Linked DNA regions of Homo sapiens: regions 1, 3 and 4 are each linked to region 2. Evidence: promoter capture Hi-C in 16 types of primary human blood cells and fetal thymus (Javierre and others, 2016). All regions are on one chromosome and are shown on one strand. Each heading gives the region's core, a stretch centred on a gene start or on the middle of the fragment in contact. The rest is flanking DNA. Distances are from core to core; before and after follow the strand shown.

The links. Contacts are between HindIII fragments. The CHiCAGO score rates a contact against its expected background, and 5 or more counts as called.
Region 1: a fragment that was not itself captured here is called in contact with the fragment with the promoter of ZFR in region 2 in 1 of 17 cell types (total CD8 T cells); the score reaches 5.0 in total CD8 T cells.
Region 3: a fragment that was not itself captured here is called in contact with the fragment with the promoter of ZFR in region 2 in 3 of 17 cell types (activated CD4 T cells, total CD8 T cells and total B cells); the score reaches 6.3 in activated CD4 T cells.
Region 4: a fragment that was not itself captured here is called in contact with the fragment with the promoter of ZFR in region 2 in 1 of 17 cell types (activated CD4 T cells); the score reaches 5.3 in activated CD4 T cells.

What each region holds. Positions count from the first base shown.
Region 1 is chr5:32,344,946-32,350,879 of GRCh38, forward strand. No RefSeq gene overlaps it. Among named protein-coding and RNA genes, the nearest start is that of MTMR12, 35 kb to the left of the region's middle. The HindIII fragment of the contact is 436 bases long and covers 2,280-2,715 here.
Region 2 is chr5:32,442,865-32,448,741 of GRCh38, forward strand. It overlaps ZFR (zinc finger RNA binding protein), which reads right to left and starts at 1,876. Exons shown (of 20, transcript NM_016107.5): 1 at 1,758-1,876; 2 at 1,365-1,464. The coding sequence starts at 1,794. RefSeq lists silencers at 919-1,258, 1,489-2,178 and an enhancer at 970-1,527. The HindIII fragment of the contact is 7,512 bases long and covers 1-3,805 here.
Region 3 is chr5:32,362,394-32,367,625 of GRCh38, forward strand. It overlaps ZFR (zinc finger RNA binding protein), which reads right to left. Exons shown (of 20, transcript NM_016107.5): 18 at 1,771-1,882; 19 at 1,555-1,652. Among named protein-coding and RNA genes, the nearest start is that of MIR579, 29 kb to the right of the region's middle. The HindIII fragment of the contact is 427 bases long and covers 3,569-3,995 here.
Region 4 is chr5:32,519,037-32,524,955 of GRCh38, forward strand. All of the region lies in intron 2 of LOC124900954 (a long non-coding RNA gene), which reads left to right. It also overlaps the pseudogene TMEM183AP2. Among named protein-coding and RNA genes, the nearest start is that of SUB1, 64 kb to the right of the region's middle. The HindIII fragment of the contact is 4,229 bases long and covers 1-3,592 here.

The DNA of each region.
Region 1 (5,934 bases), core at 1,248-3,747, 97 kb before region 2:
CTCAAAAAAAAAAACAAAAAAATTTAGCTGGGCGTGGTGGCAAGCGCCTGTAATTCCGGCTGCTCAGGAGATTGAGGCGTGAGAATCGCTTGAAGTTGGGAGGTGGAGGTTGCAGTGAGCTGAGATGGTGCCACTGCACTCCAGCCTAGGGACAGAGCAAGACTCTGTCTCGAAAAAAAAAAAAAAAAAAAAAAAGTCAAGCTCAGTGGCTCACACCTGTAATCCCAGCTCTTTGGGTGGCCAAGGCGGGCAGATCATGAGGTCAAAAGATCAAGACCATCCTGGCCAACATGGTGAAACCCGTCTCTACTAAAAATACAAGAATTAGCTGGGCGTGTTGGCACTTGCCTGTAATCCCAGCTACTCAAGAGGCTGAGACAGGAGAATCGCTTGAACCTGGGAGGTGGAAGTTGCAGTAAGCCAAGATCGTGCCATTGCACTCCAGCCTGGTGACAAAGTGAGACTCCGTCTCAAAAAAAAAAGAAACTGGCAAATGAAAAATCTTACAACTACTGGATCTTCTTCTCTCTACCTATTTATATGTGCTGTGTGTGATGTTTATATATGAAAGAGCTGATTAATTGGCTTATAAAATAAGAAGAGCTTAATTCAAATATTTCGTCAGAAAAGTAAAAGGTGCAATGTCTTTTAGTTCATGTGACTTAAGTAATTTTTGGGAAGTAAAAACAGTTTTACATGCAAGGTGTGTAAGAAAAGTGAAATGTGTTTTTGGTAAAATATCTATCTATATCTATCTATCTATCTATCTATCTATCTATCTATCTATCATCTATCTATCTATCATCTATCTATCATCTATCTATCTATATCTATCTATATATATATTTTTTGAGACTGAGTCTCGCTGTGTCAGCCAGGCCCAGGCTGGAGTGCAGTGGCGTGATCTCTGCTCACTGCAAGCTCCGCCTCCCGGGTTCACGCCATTCTCCTGCCTCAGCCTCCCGAGTAGCTGGGACTACAGGTGCCTGCCACCACGCCTGGCTAATTTTTTGTATTTTTAGTAGAGATGGGGTTTCACCGTGTTAGCCAGGATGGTCTTGATCTCCTGACCTCATGATCTGCCTGCTTCAGCCTCCCAAAGTGCTGGGATTATAGGCATGAGCCACTGCACCCACCCCAAGTAAAATATTTTAAGAAGGCATGGGAATGTGGGGTTTTTTTTTTTGCTTAAAGGGTTAAATGATTGTTTCAAGTTAGGATAAATCTGAAGGTTTGTGAAAAATTAATGTTTTTTTTTGTTTTTTGTTTTTTGTTTGTTTGTTTTTTGAGACAGAGTTTCACTCTTGTTGCCCAGGCTGGAGTACAATGGCGTGATCTTGGCTCACCGCAACCTCTGCCTCCCGGGTTCAAGAGATTCTCCTGTCTCAGCCTCCTGAGTAGCTGGGATTACAGGTGCCCACCGCCACGCCCAGCTAATTTTTTTCTATTTTTAGTAAAGACGGGGTTTTGCCATGTTGGCCAAGCTAGTCTCGAACTCCTGACCTCAGTTGATCCGCCTGCCTCGGCCTCCCAAAGTGCTGGGATTACAGGCATGAGCCCCTGCACCCAGCCAAGGTTTTATTAAGAATTGGGTTTAACATTAATAGTACATTAATGCAAAGCTGAAACTGGTTTATTTGGTATAAAAATCATATAGGAAGCATTGCCAAATATGAAATGGTGGCTTTCTTTGCACTATATTTGTATAAATACATTATTGGTATGTGTTCCAAAATTATGGGAAACTCCTATAATTCTGATATGACATAGTGTATGTTATTAATAATTATAATTGTTATGTAAAATTATTGTGTACCATAGAGGTAACCAAAATTCCTAATCCATTGTGGCTTAAATAATGGCTGGTCTAAGAGTTTTTGTCATCCACAGACTATTGTTGTTTTGTTTTAATCCTCTTCAAAAGGTGGTGTATAATTAGCTGTAGGACTTTGACAAGTGCTGTTGAATGCAGGTTCCTGACAACTTTGAAGACTGTTACACTAGAATAGAGGAAAAAACTTTCAGGACTCTCATGGAGAGTTGAAATGTTCATGAATATCAACAGGAGTTAACTTCAAGGACTGAACTAATGGAAGACTGAAGTAATCTTTTTTGACCTTTTGCTTAAAATATTGCTAATCCTTTGTTTTGTTTTTCGGAGTCAAGACAACTTTTCTTTTGAGCTATTTACAGCTTTTAACAATTGAGTAAAGTATATTCCCATGAACAAAATTTGGAGTATATTTGTTTTCTCTCTACCTGATTTATCTTTTCAAAAAAGCTTATTTTTGCAAGCAAATCGGTCTTAGTATGATTTGTCTTTAGTAAAAATGGAAGACTGGAAAGAGAAAAAAATCAGGTTTCAAGAACAATGGTACACCTGTGATTAGATTCTAGTCTCATCAGTATTTTTTAAGTTTTTTTTTATTCTGCAATTTAGACCGACTGCTTATTCCTGTGAACCAACCAGTGATCTTTGGCTACAGCTTAGAAGAAACAAGAGAGATGGATGGGTACTGTGAAAAAAGTCTGGATAAGTATTCTAATTCTAGGCACATATTGGAATCAGCTGGCAACCCTGTATCAGCTTGGTTCCAACAGTTGCCCAGTTCATGGAAAGTCTTCTATTTAGTTTACTTGGGATAATTTTACTTATTTTGCTTTACTGTTGTGGAATATATTGCTGTTGTACTCTTTGTGTAGGAATGCAGGATAAGCTTACTGAATGTTTTCTTAAATTGAACACTTATTAATCTTCTAGATATTACCTTTTGTTGGAACTCAAAGTTATGAATGGCCCTCACCATACTGATGCTTTCTTACTGAGTGCCTCTCTACCACAAATACAAGAGACCCTAATTTGTTAACCAGGAATATCATTGCCCTTACTCACCCTGAAGAAGTTACAGAAGATGGATCTTTGTCCCTCTAGAACTCAGGATTAAGGGTTTTCTTATAAAAGGCAGGGGGAAAATATGTCAGAGGCATTCAAACCAGAGCAACTCCATCTTGAATAGAAGCTGGGTAAAATAAGGCTATGGGCCTATGGGCCTGCATTTTCAGGAGGTTAGGTATTTGTAGTCACAGGAAGAGATAGGAGGTTGGCACAAGATACAGGTAACAAAGACTTTGCTGATAAAACAGCATGCAGTAAAGAAGCTGGCCAAATCCTACCAAAACAAAGATGGTGATGAAAGTGACCTTTGGTCATCCTCACTGCTCATTATACATTAATTATAATGCATTAACGTGCTTAAAGACACTCCTACCAGCACCATGACAGTTTACAAATGCCATGGCAATGTCAGGAAGTTGCCCTACATGGTCTAAAAATGGGAGAAACCCTCAGTTCCAGGAATTGCCCACCCCTTTCCCAGAAAACTCATAAATAATCCACCCTTTGTTTAGCATATAATCAAGAAGTAACAATAAGTATAAGCAGTTGAGCAGCCCAGGCTGCTGCTCTGCCTATGGAGTAGCCATTCTTTATCCCTTTACTTTCCTAATAAACTTGTTTTCACCTTACTCTATGGACTTGCCCTGAATTCTTTCTCATGTGAGATCCAAGAAATTGGGACCCCTTTCCAGTAACAATACAATTAGAAATTTTGTCATCTAGAAATATCTTATTTTCCTTTTAGCTCATCTATGTTTTCTTCTTCTTCAACTCCCAATGCCCTTTCTTCTACCTCTTTCTCTTAGTCCAGAGAGCAGACAGGATGACAGGCAGGCTACTCCAACGTGACTGAGATTTTCAGAAGGTAATGGATTTGGTCTCTCCAATGAAAGGATGGATTTTCTTAAGGCTGTAGCTTGCTTAAATTTCAGGCCTTCTTCCTGATATTTCTTTTGAAAAAAATCAGTGAAGAAAGTGCAAGTGTTTCTCTGTGGCTGTCTGTTACATTAAGTAGAGGAGCATTAAATATCCTAATGTATAGGAAATACCTGATTACAGAATTTAAAAATTTAGAATGGAAAATAACTAGAGATTGTTCCCAAACTTAACAGATACGGTTCCATGTTAAAGTTGGAAGAATACATAGGTAAAATGTCTGGGGTCTGAGATATAATAAAATCAAATGCCAACAGGGCTAGCCTGGTAGACAAATAGGAAATGATGGAGGCTGTGGTAAACTGTTCAGAACAGGTTATGTCTAAAATTTATCTTCTAAAGGGAGTGGCCCCTACTCTCAGCTTTAGCTAATTGTTACCATGTAGAAACACAAGCCCTGTGTCATCAAGTTTTCTCATTTTTCTTTTTCTTTTTTTGAGATGGAGTCTTGCTCTGTTGCCCAGGCTGGAGTGCAGTGGCATGATCTTGGCTCACTGCAACCTCCACCTCCTAGGTTCAAGAGATTCTCTTCCCTCAGCATCCCAAGTAGCTGGGCCTACAGGCATGCACCACCACACTGGCTAAGTTTTGTATTTTCAGTAGAGACAGGGTTTCACCATGTTGGCCAGGCTGTTCTCGAACTCCTGACCTCAGGTGATCTGCCCACTGGGGCCTCCCAAAGTGTTGGCATTACAGGCGTGAGCCACTGTACTCAGCCTGAACTCTTAATCTTCATGTATTTTTAGAGTAATCAGTTCCTACAATCAATTTAATCTTTTCATACTTTTATTCCGTATTTGATTAAATTTTATGAAATTTAATCAATTTCATACTTTTATTCCATAGGTTGCTTCCTTTTTTTAGAAAAAGGCTTTCACATTAGGTTTGTTGCTAAACTGAATAGTCCTTTCCAAACTAAAGACCCAATTTCTTTAATATTAAATAGCATGTCTCACTTGGGATTATATTAGAATGAGGTGAATATATTAGCTTTGTATTTAACATAGAATCAGCTTAATTAATGTTAAAAAATATTTTTCAGGCCAGGCGCGGTGGTTCACACCTGTAATCCCAGCACTTCGGGAGGCCAAGGCCGGCAGATCACTTGAGGTCAGGAAATGGAGAGCAGCTTAGACAACATGGTGAAACTCTGTCTCTACTAAAAATACAAAAATTAGCCAGGTGTGGTGGCACTTGCCTGTAATTCCAGCTACTCGGGAGGCTGAAGCAGAATGGCTTGAACCTGGGAGGTAGAGGTTGCAGGGAGCCATGATTGTGCCACTGCACTCCAGCTTGGGGGACAGAGCAAAACTCTGTCTCAAAAAAAAAAAAAAAAAAAAAAAATTCAGGCTTTAAGTTAGTAATATAACTGTTTCATATTTCCAGATTTTATTTTACACCCAATATTATTACACTAAGCAAGATAAAGGAAGACTAAAATTACCGAGACTACAGGTAATCAATAAAATTCACCGGGGCCTGTTGTGGGGTGGGGGGAGGGGGGAGGGATAGCATTAGGAGATATACCTAATGTTAAATGACGAGTTAATGGGTGCAGCACACCAACATGGCACATGTATATATATGTAACAAACCTGCATGTTGTGCACATGTACCGTAAAACTTGAAGTATCAAAAAAAAATTCCTTAGGGAATGGGGATATTACGATTTGCTTAATATTCCGATTAACATACTGATAACTATATATACACGATTTGGCTGATGACAAAATACACTTAATACTAAATTTAAAATATAGTTTAGTTTTGCATTGTATAGTACATTATGGTCACTGCTATAAAGCATTTATTAAAGCATGATCCACAATTTGTATCAGAACCATGTACATTTTTTGTTTGTTTGTTTTAGACGGAGTCTCGCCCTGTTGCCCAGGCTGGAGTGCAGTGGTGCGATCTTGGCTCACTGCAACCTCCACCTCCTGGGTTCAAGTGATTCTCCTGCCTCAGCTTTCCGAGTAGCTGGCATTACTGGTGCGCGCCACCATGCCTGGCTAATTTTTCTATCTTTAGTAGAGATGGGGTTTCACCATGTTGGTCAGGCTGGTCTCGAACTCCTGACCTCGTGACCTGCCCGCCTCAGC
Region 2 (5,877 bases), core at 626-3,125:
ATGAACATGAAAACCCAACTATATGATGTTCCCAACGTCATAAAATCAAGAGCAAAAGAGGCCAGGTGTGGTGGCTCATGCCGGTAATCCTAGCACTCTGGGAGGCCGAGGCAGGACTCTGCCCAGGAGTTCGAGATCAGCCTGGGCAACATAGGTCCTTTCTCTCTAAGAAAAATTATTTATTCAAAAAAAAAAAATCAAGAGCAAAAGAGACTGAACTCGGGTCTTCTGGCTCCCAATGATGCCCTTTCCATTAAACACCGTGCCTCCTGAAGTAAATCAAATGAAAAAAACTGCCTGGGTTTAACCAACATCTAACATACATAAAAAGCATATCACGCAGGAGCCGTGTGCGCTTATGGCCTGAATCAAAAGTCTCAGATTGACTCAAAAGTAACAATTTAACAATCCACTGTTGTGTTTGTCTTTGGTAAGATGTATAATGAACTACAGACTTCAGAAATGAGAGCTTCCCTTAAAGCAGGGATTTCATCCGGTGCATTACAATGACTCAGTACAATCTCACTTGCATCTTCTTCCCTCCCCACCATTCCCCGCAGGGGAAAGACCCCCGCAAGGAGAATGACAGGCCCACCTGGGGCCTAAACTCCATAGCTCAAACAAGGCTGGGCACTCATTTATCAGCACTAGAAACTTCGCACATCTTTTCCAGTCTAAGAACTACACAATTTACAGGTGGTTGGTATGTGAATCTCTCTCCTTGCAGGAAAAACTAAAGGAACCCGATGAACACAGTGACACCCGCAGTTTGTCAGCAGGACTCGCTAGCGATGGAGCGTCTGGGGAAGAAGCCCCACGGCGGAGGAAAAGGTACCCGAGACAACGACACGTTATCTGGGCTCCGGGGGTTGAAGCACCAGGCGACGACGCAGAGAGGCGTCGCACGAGAAGCCAGTGGACCTGCGACACGGCACTCCCCGTGAGGTCCCTTCAGCCACCCTCTCCATCCCCCAAGTGGGAAGAAGATGGGAGGTGGGGGCTGGACGCGCGGAGGCGGGGACTGGGGGGCCTGCCGGGCGGCGGTGGCGGCTCCGCTCGGCGGCCGCAGGAGGCCATTTTAGTTAAGGGGCCGCTGAAGGGCCCTGAGGCCTCCACGTCCCTACACCTCCGCCGTCTCTACCTCCCCCCTACTGGGGGCCGCTCCCCGCCGCGGGCCGGGCCGGGCCGGGCAAGGCGGGGCGGGGCGGGGCGGGGCGGGAGAGGCCGCCGGGCTGGGCCGGGCCAGGCCTGCAGCGGGCCGGGGCTCTGGGATGGCTGGGGACGGGCGCGGGGGCGTCGCATCGACAGGATCCGGACCGAGGGGAGAGCAAGGGGCGAACAGAGAGAAGGCAGGATGCCGTTACCTATATTGGGCCGCAGCCGCCGCCGCCGCCGCCCCGCTGTGGGTGAATCCAAAGTAGTTGCCGGTCGCCATTTTGGCATCTTCCCCCAGCCGGCTGGGCACTGCGGCGGGCACGAAGAGTCGGGTCCCATGGCGGGACAAGAGACACAGAGGAGCCGAGACGCCGAGGGAGGGCAGGGAGAGAAAGAGAGAGGCGCCGTGAGAGCAGCCCTGGCGGGGCCCAGGCCGCGGCCGCGCCGCCTCCCCCTCCCGCCTCGCACTCCCTCACTCACTCGCACGCCCGGGTGGCGGCCGCCGCCTCCTCCCCGGAGCCTGCCCCAACCCCCGCGGCTCCCCGCTGCCCGGGGCCAGGGAGGGGGCCGGGCAGAGGCCTCGCGGGCCACATTAGACTCACCATAGGTGAAAGAAACTACAGGGCATATGGGAATCATGGGCTCGGGCTGCTGCTGCTGAACTCTGAACTCTCACCCGCTGCCTCCCTCCTCTGCCCCGCTCCTCCTCAGCGGAGAACAGACCGCCGCCTCCGACCGCACTGCGCAGGCGCGCCTGTGCTCGGCATCCTGGGAGCTGTAGTCCCCGCCGTCTTCGCGGCTCCCCCGGGCGCGTGCCGGGGCCTCGGCGGTGCGGGCGCGGGGAAGCCCGCGGGGGAAGAGGGGCCTGGCCTTCTCCGAAGTGGTGGTGACGCCGCGCGGCCGCGGGGCGACGGGGGCGTGTGCCAGAAGCGCCTCGCCTGTCCTCTGGGGAGTCGGGGAGCGTGACCAGAGAGAGTGACGTCTGTTCGCCTTTTTCTTTGCTTTCCACTGGCTTCCTTAACTTTTGCATGTGCACTTATTCCCTGCCTCCCTGTCTTCCTCGCTCATTAATTTTTCATTGGAATTCGAGCTGGGCAATTTAGGATTTTTCCTTATTTCCTGCTTTCCCGCAGCTTTTCCCCAACCTCTGAAGTGCGGAGGGAGGGAGAAGGAGAGGAGAGAAATAGAAAAAGGATGGAGAGTGCTTTTCTGTTGGACTAAAAGCACACCCTAAACATCCCTCCCGGACATACCTCTTGCTATACCCTTTCCTCGACCTGCACCCACTCCCTGAGCCATCCGGCGTATATCGGTCACCCAGCAGGGTGTCAGGCAGTGTTGTAGGTGCTGGAGATACGGCAGAGAACAAAACAAAGTCCCTGTTCCCGTGGAGTTTACGTTCTAGGAGCGGGTATATGTCAGCCAACAGCCGGTAGCCAAAACACAGAAATTCTGTCTGATGGTGACTGGAGCTTCAAGCATAAATAAAGCAGAGTAAGGAAAATAAGGGTAAGGGAGGTGCTATTTCATGTAGAGTGTGGTTAGGGAGACCACTTGAAGGAAGGAAGGACAGGCCTGGGAGATGCCTGCAGGAAGAGCAGCAAGTGGAAGGGTCCAGATGAAGGAATGAATGTTCAAGAGCAAGAAGATCAGTCTGGCTGGAGTCAAGTGAGAGGGAGACCAGATCACGTGCCAGATCTTTAGTGGTAAGGACAGAACAGTACTTGCCCCCATGTAAGCATTTCCTCTTTCCCTCTGTTTCCTCGCTTTCTTCCCTTTAGTTTCTCAGTTCGTTTTCAACCATTCTCTTTCCTCTTCCAGTCCCTCTTCTGATCGTCTAGTTTCTCTGGCCTTATGTTTCGTGTCTTCCATCAAGTACATATGTACTGCCTGCATTTCACCTCTTCCTTACCTTCTCCATGCCCATCCCCCAGACTCCCTGCTCCTCATCTCTCCTCATTGTTGGATATGAACATTAAAAGGAAATGCTGGCCGGGCGCGGTGGCTCACGCCTGTAATCCCAACACTTTGGGCGGCCGAGGCGGGTGGATCACGAGGTGAGGTCAGTGGCCAACATGGTGAAACCCCGTCTCAAAAAAAAAGAAAAAAAAAAAAAGCCGGGCGTGGTGGCGGGCGCCTGTAGTCCCAGCCACTCAGAAGGCTGAGGCAGGAGAATCGCTTGAACCCTGGAAGCAGAGGTTGCAGTGAGCCGAGATCGCGCCCCTGGACTCCAGCCTGAGCGACAGAGCGAGACTCCGTCTTAAAAAAAAAAAAAAAAAGGAAAGGAAAAAAAAGAAATGCAAAGGGTGAATCAGAACCCACCCATGAAATTCAGGGCTTTGTCCTACTTTCTTGTGCCAGAGCAGAAACAATGCCTCAATTCTTTTTTGTGCCAACCTTGCTCCCCACGCCTCCTACAAAAGTACAGGCTCTCAGAACCTGTCTGATTTGTCCTGTTACTCATTTCAGAAAGAGAAAATGTAGAACCTTGGAGAAAAGTTAAGTGTCATTATTTTTGAGAATACTGATGTTTTCCCAGGCAAAAGTTATTTGTGCCCCAAGGATGTTGCTAGGAAGAAATACCTCCTACACATAGGACATTAGAACTGTATTTTAAAGGTATTTTGCCTTGAACTTCATTGAGCAGTCAAGCTTCAAGACACTGACTGTAACTGCTTTGATGAACCGGCTCTATTAGTTACTAGGCTATTTGAATAAAACTGGAGGAGAAAAGACAGGTGTTGATTACTTGCCTAAAAAGAGTCTGTGTAGGCCAGTTTTATGCTTGTTTGCTTGGCAGGCCTTTGGAGGCCGGCGTGCTACTGGCACACCCCAATGAGCAAGCACATAACTAGAAAGAGGAAGACGGGGCCTCTCCCCTGGTTCTTAGGGGTCAAAGTAGGTGTGGCAGTAGTGAAAATTATTTACAACAGCACTCTCAAAGATGCAGCCTGTAGGAACAACCTTTCAGTATCGCACCTACTTGCCCTTGACTTGGGCTCCTTTAAGGAAGGAGTTTTGGAGGGTCTTGAATATTTTTCCTGGGCATCTAGTAGTGGAGTAACCTGAACATGTTATTTAACCTATCTGAACCCATACGGCAAGAATAACAATAACATCTTCCTGATGGGACTCTGGTGGGGTTTAAATGAGGCAGCATTTATGTAAGACATCTAGTTTTTTTTGTTTTGAGATAGGGTTTCACTCTGTCGCCCAGGCTAAGTGCAGTGTTGTGATCTCAGCTCAATGCAGCCCCAACCTCCTGGGCTCAAGCAATCCTCCCACCTCAGCCTCCTGAGTAGCTGGGACTACAGGCACATGCCACCATGCCCAGCTAATTTTTGTATTTTTTGTAGAGATGGAGTTTTGCCACATTGCCCAGGCTGGTCTCCAATTCCTGAGCTCAGGCGATCTGCTCATTTCGGCCTCCCAAAGTGCTGGGATTACTGGTGAGAGTGAGCCACCATGCCTGGCCTAACGCCTAGCTTTTTCATGTAAAAAGACTAGGCTAGATGATTGTCAGTTCTTTATTTTTATTTATTTATTTGAGACAAAGTCTTGCTTTGTCACCCACGCTGGAGTGCAATGGCGCGATCTCAGCTCACTACAAACTCCGCCTCTCAAGATCAAGCAATTCTCCTGCCTCAGTCTCCCAAGTAGCTGGGACTACAGGCATGCGCCACCACACCCAGCTAATTTTTGTATGTTTAGTAGAGAAGGGTTTCACCATGTTGGCCAGGCTGTTCTCAAAGTCCTGACCTCAAGTGATCCACCCACTTGGCCTCCCAAAGTGCTGGGATTACAGGCGTGTGCCACTGTGCCAGGCCGATTGTCAGTCTTTTAAAATCAACCTTCTAATAAGTGAATGCATTGTGCAAATCACACCTACAAGTCAAAAGTAGGTGGCTCTGCCCTGGAAGAGTTTATGTTCTAGAGTACCCGGTCTAGGCAACATGGCTGTACGTAGTCTTCTGGGTCAACAATTAAAGATGAAATACTTGACCAGAAGCAACCAATTATAATAGGGATTGTCATCCTTCATGTCCAGAACTGGTTTGGTATGCAAATCTGATCAAATCCTCTGTGCTTTCATCTCTCAGGATAAAGCAAATTCTTCCATGTGGCCCACGAGACTCTGTGGCCTGGCCCACCTGCCTTTTCAGCATCTTCCTCCTTATTCACTCTATCCCAGCTATCTTGGCCTCCTGTTCACCATGCTCCCTCCCACCAGGGGGCTTTGCATGTTCTCCCTGCCTAGAATGTTCTCCCTTCTTCCCTTTACCTGGTTTACCCTCATGCTTGGGGATCGCAACTCATTCAACCCCTCGTGACCTTGATGGGTCAAACCCTTGCTATGCTCTCAGAGCACCAGACATCTCTTCTTAGTTGCCCTTGTCACAGTTGCAATCTTATACTTATTGTGTGATTATATGATTAATATATATTTCTCTCTCGCATCAAACTATAAGCTTCACGAGGGCAGGTTGCCAGTATTGGGTGCCTGTTGGTAGGCACCCAATAAGTACTTATGGAATGAATGAACCACGCTGTGCACAGTTTAATCTTTCTTTCATGATTCAGAAGGTAGTTCAAGAACCTGTAGTGCCTCAGGGTCATAATTATGAACCTCAATTAGGATCTGAAGGTAAAAGAGGAAATGTCATTGGCAGTCAATTAGCCACAAGGTAGAGCTAGCCTGACAAAGCCAGCCCCTAAACTCAC
Region 3 (5,232 bases), core at 2,532-5,031, 79 kb before region 2:
ATCATTCCAGAGACAAAGGAAGGAAGAGGGACATTAACATGGGCGCTACAGGCCACCGAAAAACTAACCGAAATTGACACTGGTACTTCAGATTTCACCAGTTATATATGCACTAATTTATGTGTGCATGTGTGTATAGCTCTATGCAATTTTATCACACATGCCGCCTTATGTCATGTAACTACCATCACAATCAAGATGGGTAACTGTTCTGTTGCCAAAAGACCCCCTTTAGAGCCATGCCATTCCTTCTTCCTATCCTTAAACACTCCTAGGAAACACTAATCTGTTTTCCTCCTCATCCAAGTATTACGTCATGAGTGCTACATAAATGCATTGTATATTGTGTAACTCGTTCACTTTTATTAAGAACACTTCTAAATGTTCTCCTAAACGTCCTCTTAAAACCAGACCACTTTCTTTAAGGTCACATTTTTAGAAAAGTAAGCATTCTTCTTAATGATGAATTTTGTTAGTTTTCAAGTGTTTCCTTTTGAATTTCTTTTCCCTTAAATTTATAACTAATTCCTTTAAGTACTAAAGGGAGAAAGAACAGACACTTAAGGCAACTATCTTCTTCCCTAGAATATAAAATGAAAGAAATAAAAACAGCGAATGCATAAGAATTTGGTCATATTTTGAGTCTGTAAGATATCCATAATATTCTATTACTACTCTCTCTCCCCCAATACCATTTCTGGCCTAACAATTTACTTTGATCCTGACATCTTTCAAATTCCAAATTATTCAAGATAACCAATCAAGATCTTAAATCCAACAACTCCCAAGCATCTTAGAGTGAATTACTGTTCATAGCTAGTATGCTTTTTTCCCCTACTCAGCACATTTCTGGAATCAACAAAGGGAAGCTGTACCAATCTTAGGTTGATTTTTTTCCATTCATTCATTAGGTTCAATGTTTTTTCTTTTTCATAATTATTCAATAGGGTTAATAAGATGATAATACTAGCTAACATTTAAGATCCTTCCATATACCAGGTGTTAAGATGGTTACACATATTAACTCATTTAATCTTCTCAACAATCCTGTTTGAGACAGATACTGCTTTTATATCCATATTACAGATGAGATGGCAGAGTTGGTAGTCAAATCCAGGGAGTCTGTCTCCAGAGCCCACATTTTTATTTACTTTATTTGACAGTGGCAGGAAAGGTTAAATTATAACAATAATGACCATAAACACCACAGCAAATTACTTTTGTACAACCAGAGGACATAAGAATTTCTGCTGATCTTGATACATAACCTATTACCCAGATTTAATGAGACACTGAAAATATTGCTGTATTTTTATAATATACAATACACTTACTTAGAAATGCCCATATAATTAAATAATAAAATTTTAAACTCTATTAGTGAAATCTAGTTTTGGGCAAGCTATTTTAATATCCTTTCTAGGGGCTTGCTTACTACAGAAGCAGAAGAACGAATATTATATAGTGACTTATAATATTCCTTAAGACAATAACAGAAAAATAAAACCTTAATGGAGTAACCCAATAGGGCTCTGAATTTAGGAATACCAGTACCTGTGCACTGGATGTGATGTCTTCACGCTGCTGGTCAGTCATTGTTGCCAAGGTATCAAAGGGATCCTTTTCACAAGGATCCAGAAGTCCAGGACTACCTACAGCAATCACCACAGGGAGAGGAAATTATTAGCATTGTCCACTTATAAAAAAAATTATTCAACCAGCAAATGAGTAAACTTCATTTTACTTCATTAAAAACAAAGTAAGAGTTACCTTTAAGAATAATCCCTGAAGAAATGCATTCAAAAACTCTTCTCAGTGCATCCCCAGGGCTCTGAGGGCTAGAAGCACTGCTGATTGCTTTCTCTACTAGTAACTCCATAGCCTAAAAATACAACATAAAAATGTGTTTAACAGCTTACCAAAGGAATTACTCATTTTCAAACTAAAATTTTAAAGACTGAAAAAATTTTAAAGACTGAAAAAGCTACATAGAACAAGTCACAAAAACAGAAAATAAATATTACATATAATATAAAAACATTCAAAATTAAGGAATAGGCCGGGCACAGTGGCTCACGTCTGTAATCCAAACACTTTGGGAGGCAGATTGCCTGAGTTCAGGGGTTAAAGACCAGCCTGGGCAAGATGGCAAAACCCCGTCTCTACAAAAAAAACCCCAAAAAACCAAAAATTAGCTGGATGTGGTGGCACATGCTGGTGGCCCCAGCTACTTGGGGGACTGAGGCGGGAGGATCGCTTGAGCCTGGGATCGTTTACTGGCTGCAGTAAGCTGAGATTGCGCCATTGCACTCTAGCACCCTGAGTGATGGAGTGAGACCATCTTTCTTCACAAACAAAAAAACAAAAAAAACAAAACAAAAACCCAATGCAGGGAGTGGTGTTTTGAAGGGTCTCATGATAAAAATTTGTATTTAGATTTTTAAAAATTGAGATATAATTCACATGTAAGATTCACCCTTTTAAACTGTACAATTCAGTAGTTTTTAGTATATTCACAAAGTTGTTCAATAATCACCATTACCTAATTCCAGAACATTTTCATGATCTCCAAAAGAAACCACATAGCCACTAGTAGTCATTCTCCATTCTCCCTTTCTTTTAGCCCTTGGCAACCCCTAAATCACTTCCAGTTTCTACAGATTTGCCTACTATGGACGTTTTATACAAATGGAATCATGTAATACGTGGCTCTGTGTTTGACTTCTCTCACTTAGCATAATATTTAAGGCTTATCCATGTTGTAGCTTTTACTTAAAAGTTTAAATGAGACTACCAACAGCAATTCAAAGAAACTAGTTTGGAACCACTATGAAATCCTTAAGATGATAATGAAAGCTGAAAAGACATTAGTGAGAATCCATACTTTTGGCTATACACTAAAAAAGCTCATGGACTTATTTATCAGAAGTAAAAACTGCGTCAACCTATTCACTCCAAGGCCATTTCTCAGAATCTCTTTACATTTTAAGAGATGAGAATTTAAAGAAATAGCGCACATTAACAACTATGAAAAATAAATGATAGCTTCCAGCACGATTGGAAAAAACCTGAAAATAATGAATATTAATAGTGATAAATGTAAGTCACAATTAAAAAAATTAAGACAGCTCAGTTTATTCCGTTGAAGAATGCAGGAAGATGTTCAAGATTCTTTTTTATTTTGAGAAAGGGTCTTGTTCTGTCACCCAGGCTAGAATGCAGTGGCATGACCATGGCTCACTGCAGCCTCAAGCTCTTGGGCTCAAGTGATCCTCCCACCTCAGCTCAGGATCACTTGAGCCCAAGAGCTTGAGGTTGCAGTGAGCTGTGGTCGTGCCGCTGTACGACTGGGACAACAGGCGCAGCCACCATGCCTGGCTAATTTTTGTAGAGATGGGGTCTCACTATGCTGTCCAGGCTGGTTTTGAACTCCTGGACTCATGTAAACCAACTGCCTTGGCCTCCCAAAGCCTTGGGATTACAGGCATCACAGCAACAGCCCCTCAAGACATTTTTCATTTTTTACGGATTTTCATTTTAAAGTTAAGTTTTAATATTTTAAGGGACAAGCTTCAGTCATCTAGAAAACTCTATGTGTATGTATGGAATATGCATGTGTATGGAATATTTTAAGATGCGAAAAGACTTGAGACCCTTGAGGATAAGGTCAGTGTTACTCATCTTGAACCCACTTGCCTAGTACAAGTAGCCAGAATTTTGTAAATACTTAGTAAATGATGACATGGAATGATTTTGGAAAGAATGTGAGAATAATCCTGACAATTCAGTGATAAAATAAACCAAGAGTAATAATTAGCAAAATATTGATGTTGTGATTAAAACACAAAATTGAAGTCATAAAATACGTAACTTTCGATAAATGCCTCAAATTTTTACTGAGTACTTTTAGCAAATGTTATGAGAAAAGTGAGCATTAAGTAATCAGCTACAGTTCAGGTACGTCAAGACATAAAAATGTGTTTCAAGTAACTCAAAGCTTTTTCAAAATCTGTTTATTGATTGGCTTTAAGAATCAGGCATTTCTGATTTATACCAGCAGGTAAAAGCAGAAATTAATTAAAAGTCAAGAAAGAAATCAATTATTTATGGAACACAAAAAAGTCAATACACTTAAACACACACAATAAAACTAATCAACTACCTCTGACACCATTTACTGTGAACTAAGCAATTAAAACATATTAATTTTCTAAAGAACATAGCTATTCTCCAAGCACATGTCTACAGTTAAAAGAGCAATGAAAATAGAAGAATATAATTCAAAAGTAAAAAGATAATATCAAAAATAAATAGAATCAAATTAAGGATTACAACACTTCAGGTTTTGATGTAAAGGGTCTTGGAGGCTATAATTATATAAGAGAATAACTTATTAAGAATTATTATAACTGGAGATGGAAAAAGCTCCCCATATTAAATGATTAAAAAAATCAAGGATTGTAATATTTGCTTTAAAAGATTTTTTAATTTTTTTTTTTTTTTTTACAGACAGGCCCTCGCTATGTTGCCAGGATGGAGTGCAGTAGTTATTCGCAGGCACGATCATAGCACACTGCAGCCGAGCTTGAACTCCTGGGCTCAAGTAATCATACCTCAGTTTCCCCAGTAGCTGAGACTACAAGTGAATGCCACTGCACTCCACTGTAATATTTGCTTTTTATTTATTTTTTGAGAGACAGGGTCTTGCTCTGTTTCCTAGACTGGAAAGCAGTGGTGTGATTATAACTGACTGTAGCAGGCTGGGTGTGGTGGTTCACGTCTGTAATCCCAGCACTTTGGGAGGTCAAGGTGGGTGGATCACCTGACGTGAGGAGTTTGAGACCAGCCTGCCCAACATGGCGAAATCCTGTCTCTACCAAAAACACAAAAAATTAGCCGGGTGTGGTGGCAGGTGCCTGTAATCTCAGCTACTCAGGAGGCTGAGGCAGGAGAATCACTTGAACCTGGGAGGCGGAGGTTGCGGTGAGCTGAGATCACGCCACTGCACTCCAGCCTGGGCGACAAGAGTGAAACTCCATCTCAAAAATAATAAATAAATAAATAAATAAAGTAAATAAATAAATAAATAAATAAATAACTCACTGTAGCCTTGACCTCCCAGGCTCAAGTGATTGACCTCAGCCTCCTGAGTAGCTGGCACTACAGAACCCACTACCATGCTTGGCTAATTTTTATTTTTAGTAGAGATGAGGTCTTGCTATGTTGCCTGAG
Region 4 (5,919 bases), core at 228-2,727, 76 kb after region 2:
CTAATTAAAATAAAGAATTTCTGCATAGCAAAACAAACAAACAAACAAACAAAAACTATCAACAGACTAAACAGCCAACCTACAGAATGGGAGAAAATATTTGCAAACTATGCATCCAACAAAGGTCTGATATCCAGAATCTATAAGGAACTTAATTCAACAAGCAAAAAACAAGCAACCTCATTAAAAAATGGTCAAAGGACATGAACAGACCCTTCTCAAAATATGATATACATGCAGCCAACAAATATATGAAAAAATGCTCAACATCACTAATCATTAAAGAAATACAAATCAAAACCACAATTAGATACCATCTCACATCACTCAGAATGGCTATTAAAAAGTCAAAAAATGACAGATGTTGCCAAGGTTGTATAGAAAAGGGAATGCTTATACACTGTTGCTGGGAATGTAAATTAGTTCAGTCCCCATGGAAAAGGGTTTGGAGATTTCTCAACTTAAAACAGGACTACCATTCAACTTGGCAATCCTATTACTGGGTATATACCCAAAGGAAAGTAAGTCATTCTACCAAAAAGGCATGTGCACTCATAAGTTTATCACAGCACTTTCACCATAGCAAAGACAAGGAATCGACCTAGGTGCCAATGAATGGTGGACTAGATAAAGAAAATGTGGTACATATACACCACGGAATACTACACAGCCATAAAAAAGAATGAAATCACATCCTTTGCAGTAACATGGATGCAGGTGGAGGCCATTATCTTAAGTGAATTAATGCAGGAACAGAAAACCAAACACCACATGTTCTAACTTATAAGTGGGCGCTAAATATTGAGCACACAAATACATAAGAAGGGAACAATGACACTGGGGACAGAGTGAGATCTTGTCTCAAAATTAATTTATTTTTATTTTTTTTTTGAGACAAGATTTCACTCTGTCACCCAGGTTGGAGTACAGTGGCACAATCACAGCTCAATGCAGCCTCAATTTCCAGGGCGCAAGTGATCCTCCCAACTCAGCCTCCTGAGTAGCTGGGATTACAGGCATGTGCCACCACACCTGGCTAAATAAAAAAAAAAAAATTTTTTTTTTGCAGAGTTGGAGTCTCACTAAGTTGCCCTGGCTGTTCTCAAATTCTTGGACAAAAGCGATCCTCCTTCCCTGGCCTCCCAAATTGCTGGGATCATAGGCATGAGCTGCCTTGACCACTGACACTGGAGGCTACTAGAAAAGGGAGGATGGAAGAAGGGCGAGGGTTGAAAAACTGCCTATGCTCACTACCTGGGTGATGGAATCATTTGTACACCAAACCTCAGTGACACACAATTTACCCATGTAACAAACCTGGACGTGTACCCCCTGATCAAAAATAGAAGTTGAAAAAAAATGGGCAAAGGATTTGAATAGACTTTCTCTAAAGAAGATACACAAGCGACTAATAAGTACATGAACAGCTGCTCAACATCATCCGGTAGTTTAGGAAAATGGAAATCAAAGCCTCAGTGAAATACTGTTTCATGCTTGCTAGATGGGTAAAATAACAAAGAGACAAAATAGGAAGCACTGGCCAGGATATGGAGAAATCAGAAACCCTCATACATTGCTGATGGGATTGTAAAACGGTGCAGCCACTTTGGAAAACAGTTTGGCAGTTCCTCAAAAATTTAAACATAGAGTCACCTTATGACCAGGCAATTGTGCTCCTATGTATATGCCCAAGAGAAATGAAAACATATGTCCATACGAAAACTTGCACATGAATGCTTATAGAAGCATTATTCATAATAGCCAACAAATGGAAACAACCCAAATGTCCATCAATAAACAAACATAAATAAACAAAATGTGGTATCTCCAAACAATGGAATATTTTCAGTCATAAAAAGGAATGATATACTGATTCATGCTACAGTGTGGATGAACCTTGAAAACATAATGCTAAGTTAAAGAAGGCAGACACAAAAGACCACATCTTGTACAGTTGCACTTATGTGAAATGTCCAGAATAAGAAAATTCATAGCAACAGGAAGTAGATTGGGGGTTTCCAGAGGTTAGAAGAAGGAGGGAATGCAGAATGATTGCTAATGGGTCAGGGGTTTCTTTTTGGAGTGATGAAAATATTTGAAATTAGAGAGAGGGGATGGTTACGCAACCTTGTGAATATGTTAACACCCATGGAATGTGCTTCAGTGGCGAATTTTATGATACGTGCATTAAATGTCAATAAAGTTGTCATTGAAAAAAAAAAGGTTGCGAGGCTGCCTTAGAAGCAGCTGCACTCCCCAAGCAGTGGGTCTAAGGTGCTTATTTTCTGGGACCAGAGGTGAAAACTGATGTATGAATTCTGACCTGGCATCATTTAAAAAGAGATTTTGCCTGGCACTGTGGGGTGTGACTATAGTCCTGGCTACTTGGGAGGCTGAGGCGGGAGGATTACTTGAGCCCAGGAGTTGGAGGCTGCAGCGAGCTATGATCACACCTATGAATAGCCACTGCACTCCAACTTAGGCAACATAGCAAGACCCTGTCTTTAAAAAAGAGAAAAAGAGATCTTGCCCAAGAGGACTGCCTGAGAGTACGATGGGACACAACAGAGAGACAGTCCGTGTGGAGACGGCCACCCCATGCTAAGGTTGCCAAGGGTGATGAATGACAAACCAAAGCAGAGGCCATTCCCCAACTCCAAGTGAAGAGGAGCAGTCAGACAGCTTCCTGGCCAGCCCATCGGAGTAACCAGGAGAGAAGCATCAGCTCAAATCATTTAACATGTTCAGAGAAACTCCAAGCCTGGAGGGTCAGAAGTCCCAGAAAGTGCGGGCTGTGGAGGAGAGGCTCCCAGAGGAAAAAGAGAAGCAGACAATCACCCTCTCCTTGACTGCATGCTTCTGCCTTGAGCAGGCCACGCTGAGGCAAGTTGACATAAAGTCAAGAGTTCCGATGATTATACTGCATGAGACATATTAATTTATAACATTAGTTTTTCTTGTGGCTGAAAGCAATCAGAATATTTTCTTTCTTATCTTTTTTTTTTGAGATGGAGTTTTGCTCTTGTTGCCCAGGCTGGAGTGCAATGGCGCGATCTCGGCTCACTGCAACCTCCACCTCCCAGGCTCAGATGATTTTCCTGCCCCAGCCTCCCGACTAGCTGGGATTACAGGTACGAGCCACCATGCCTGGCTAATTTTTGTATTTTTAGTAGAGACGGGGTTTCACCATCTTGGCCAGGCTGGTCCTGAACTCCTGGCCTTAAGTGATCTGCCTGCCCTGACCTCCCAAAGTGCTGGGATTATAGGAGTGAGCCACCACGCCTGGCCGCGATCGGAATATTTTTTAACTCTTAGAATTAATGAAAAACTATGGGGTTTGCCCAGGTTTCATACATACATGGGTAAGAACTAGCACCACAGAACATCCATCCGGTGCCTACTCCTCAACACAGATGTAATCTGAATAAATCACTGCAGAGAGCGGTAAGTCCTATGATGAAACAATAGTTCAGATGAGAGATGAAGATGTGAAATCAAGTATATGAGGAAAAGGGGAAAACTTAGGTTTAAAAATCGACGAATTTGGCCAGGCATAGTGGCTCATGGGAGCCTGAGGCGGGAGGATTGCTTAAGCTTAGGAGTTTGAGGCCAGCCTGGGCACAGGGCAAAACCCCGTCTCTACAAAAAATACAAAAAATAGCCAGTTGTGGGAGAGTTAGCGGCCTCCGGTGTGGGAAGGCCACGGAGCCGGGCCGGAGACATGGCCCGGGGGCCCGGCCAGCTAGGCAGGCCTCGCCCCGATACGGTCGCCATGCCCAAGAGAGGAAAGCGACTCAAGTTCTGGGCCCACGACGCCTGCTCTGGACAAGTGACTGAGGTGGATTACGCCAACTCGGATCCAGCGGTCGTGAGGTCTGGATGAGTCAAGAAAGCCTTAGCCAACGCTGTTCAGCAGGAAGTAAAATCTCTTTGTGGCTTGGAAGCCTCTCAGGTTCCTGCAGAGGAAGCTCTTTCTGGGGCTGGTGAGCCCTGTGACATCATCGACAGCGGTGATGAGACGATGCCCAGGAGGAAAGCATCTGTGAGAGAACTGTCTCCAGAAAAAAGAAAAGCAAGAGGCACAAAGAAGAACTGGACGGGGCTGGAGGAGAAGAGTATCCCATGGATATTTGGCTATTGCTGGCCTCCTATATCTGTCCTGAGGACATTGTGAATTTTTCCCTGATTTGTAAGAATGCTCGGACTGTCACTTGCACTGCTGCCTTTTGGACAAGGTTGTACCGAAGGCACTACACGCTGGATGCTTCCCTGCCTTTGCGTCTGCGACCAGAGTCAATGGAGAAGCTGCGCTGTCTCCGGGCTTGTGTGATCCGATCTCTGTACCATATATGTATGAGCCATTTGCTGCTCCAATCTCCAAGAATCCAAGCACCCCCAGCACATTAAAGAATTCCAAATGCTTACTTTTCTGGTGCAGAAATATTGTTGGGAACAGACAGGAACCAATGTGGAAATTCAACTTCAAGTTAAAAAAACAGGTTAAAGAGCAAGTGTACAGGAGGATTGCAGCCCCCTGTTCAGTACGAAGATGTTCATACCAATCCACACCGGGACTGCTGCCTACTGCAGGCCACCACCCTCAATTTCATCTTCATTCCGATTGTCATGAGAATGATATTTACTCTCTTTACTATCAATGTGAGCAAGGACATACGGCATCATTGAGTGAGACTGGTGTTTCAAGATTCCCCTGTCCATGGTGGTCGGAAACTGTGCAGTGAACAGGGTGTGCAAGTCATCCTGGACCCAGTGCACAGCTTTCGGCTCTTTGACTGATGGCACCCTCAGTACCCATTCTCCCTGAGAGCGTAGTTACTGCTTCCCATCCCTTGGGGGCAGCCCCGATTCTAGTCCATTAGTAATCAGATTCCAGTTTGGACAGGGCGGCTGGATTATATATCTGGTTAGTAATGTACATGCTCTTCAGGTTCTAGGGCTCCTGTTAGGGGAGGGAGAAATGTTGAATCAAGAGGGAAAACAACTACTATGATTTATAAACATATTTTAATGTAAAAATTTGCATTAAAAAAATAGCCAGTTGTGGTGTCGTGTGCCTGTAGTCCCAGCTATTTGGGAGGCTGAGGTGGGAGGATTGTTTGAGTCTGGGAGGACCAGGCTGCAGTGAGCCGAGATCGCCCCAGTGTACTCTGGCCTAGGCAGCAGAGTGAGATCCTGTCTCAAAGAAAGAAAGAAAAAAATGGACAAATTTGAGCAGCAGATTAGATGTGGGAAGTAACAAAGAAGGAGACATCAGAGATGACTTTAAGTGTCTAATTTGGGAGATCAGGTGACTGATTGTCATTAACAGCTGAAGGAAGGAGGGAGGAGCAGATATTGGTGGAGGAAAGGAAGATACAAAGTTTTTTTTTTTTTTTTTTTTGAGACGGAGTCTCGCTCTGTTGCCCAGACTGGAATGCAGTGGTGCGATCTAAGCTCACTGCAAGCTCCGCCTCCCGGGTTCACAACATTCTCCTGCCTCAGCCTCCTGAGTAGCTGGGACTACAGGCACCCGCCACCACGCCTGGCTAATTTTTTGTACTTTTAGTAGAGACGGGGTTTCACTGTGTCAGCCAGGATGGTCTCCATCTCCTGAACTTGTGATCCGCCTGCCTCGGCCTCCTAAAGTGCTGGGATTACAGGCATGAGCCACTGCGCCTGGCCCCTCAAAGTTTTGTTTTGGACATGCTGAGTTTGAGGTGCATGTGTCACAGAAGGGTCAGAAGCCAGGAAACAGTTGGAAGTGCAGCCTAGAGCTCAGGTGACAATTCGGGTGGAATAGCTTTTTAAATTTTCAGGACATTGGCCAGGTGTGGTGGCTCACGCCTGTAATCTCAGCACTTTGGGAGGCTGAGGCAAGCGGATCACCTGAGGTCAGGAGTTTGAAACCAGCCTGGCCAA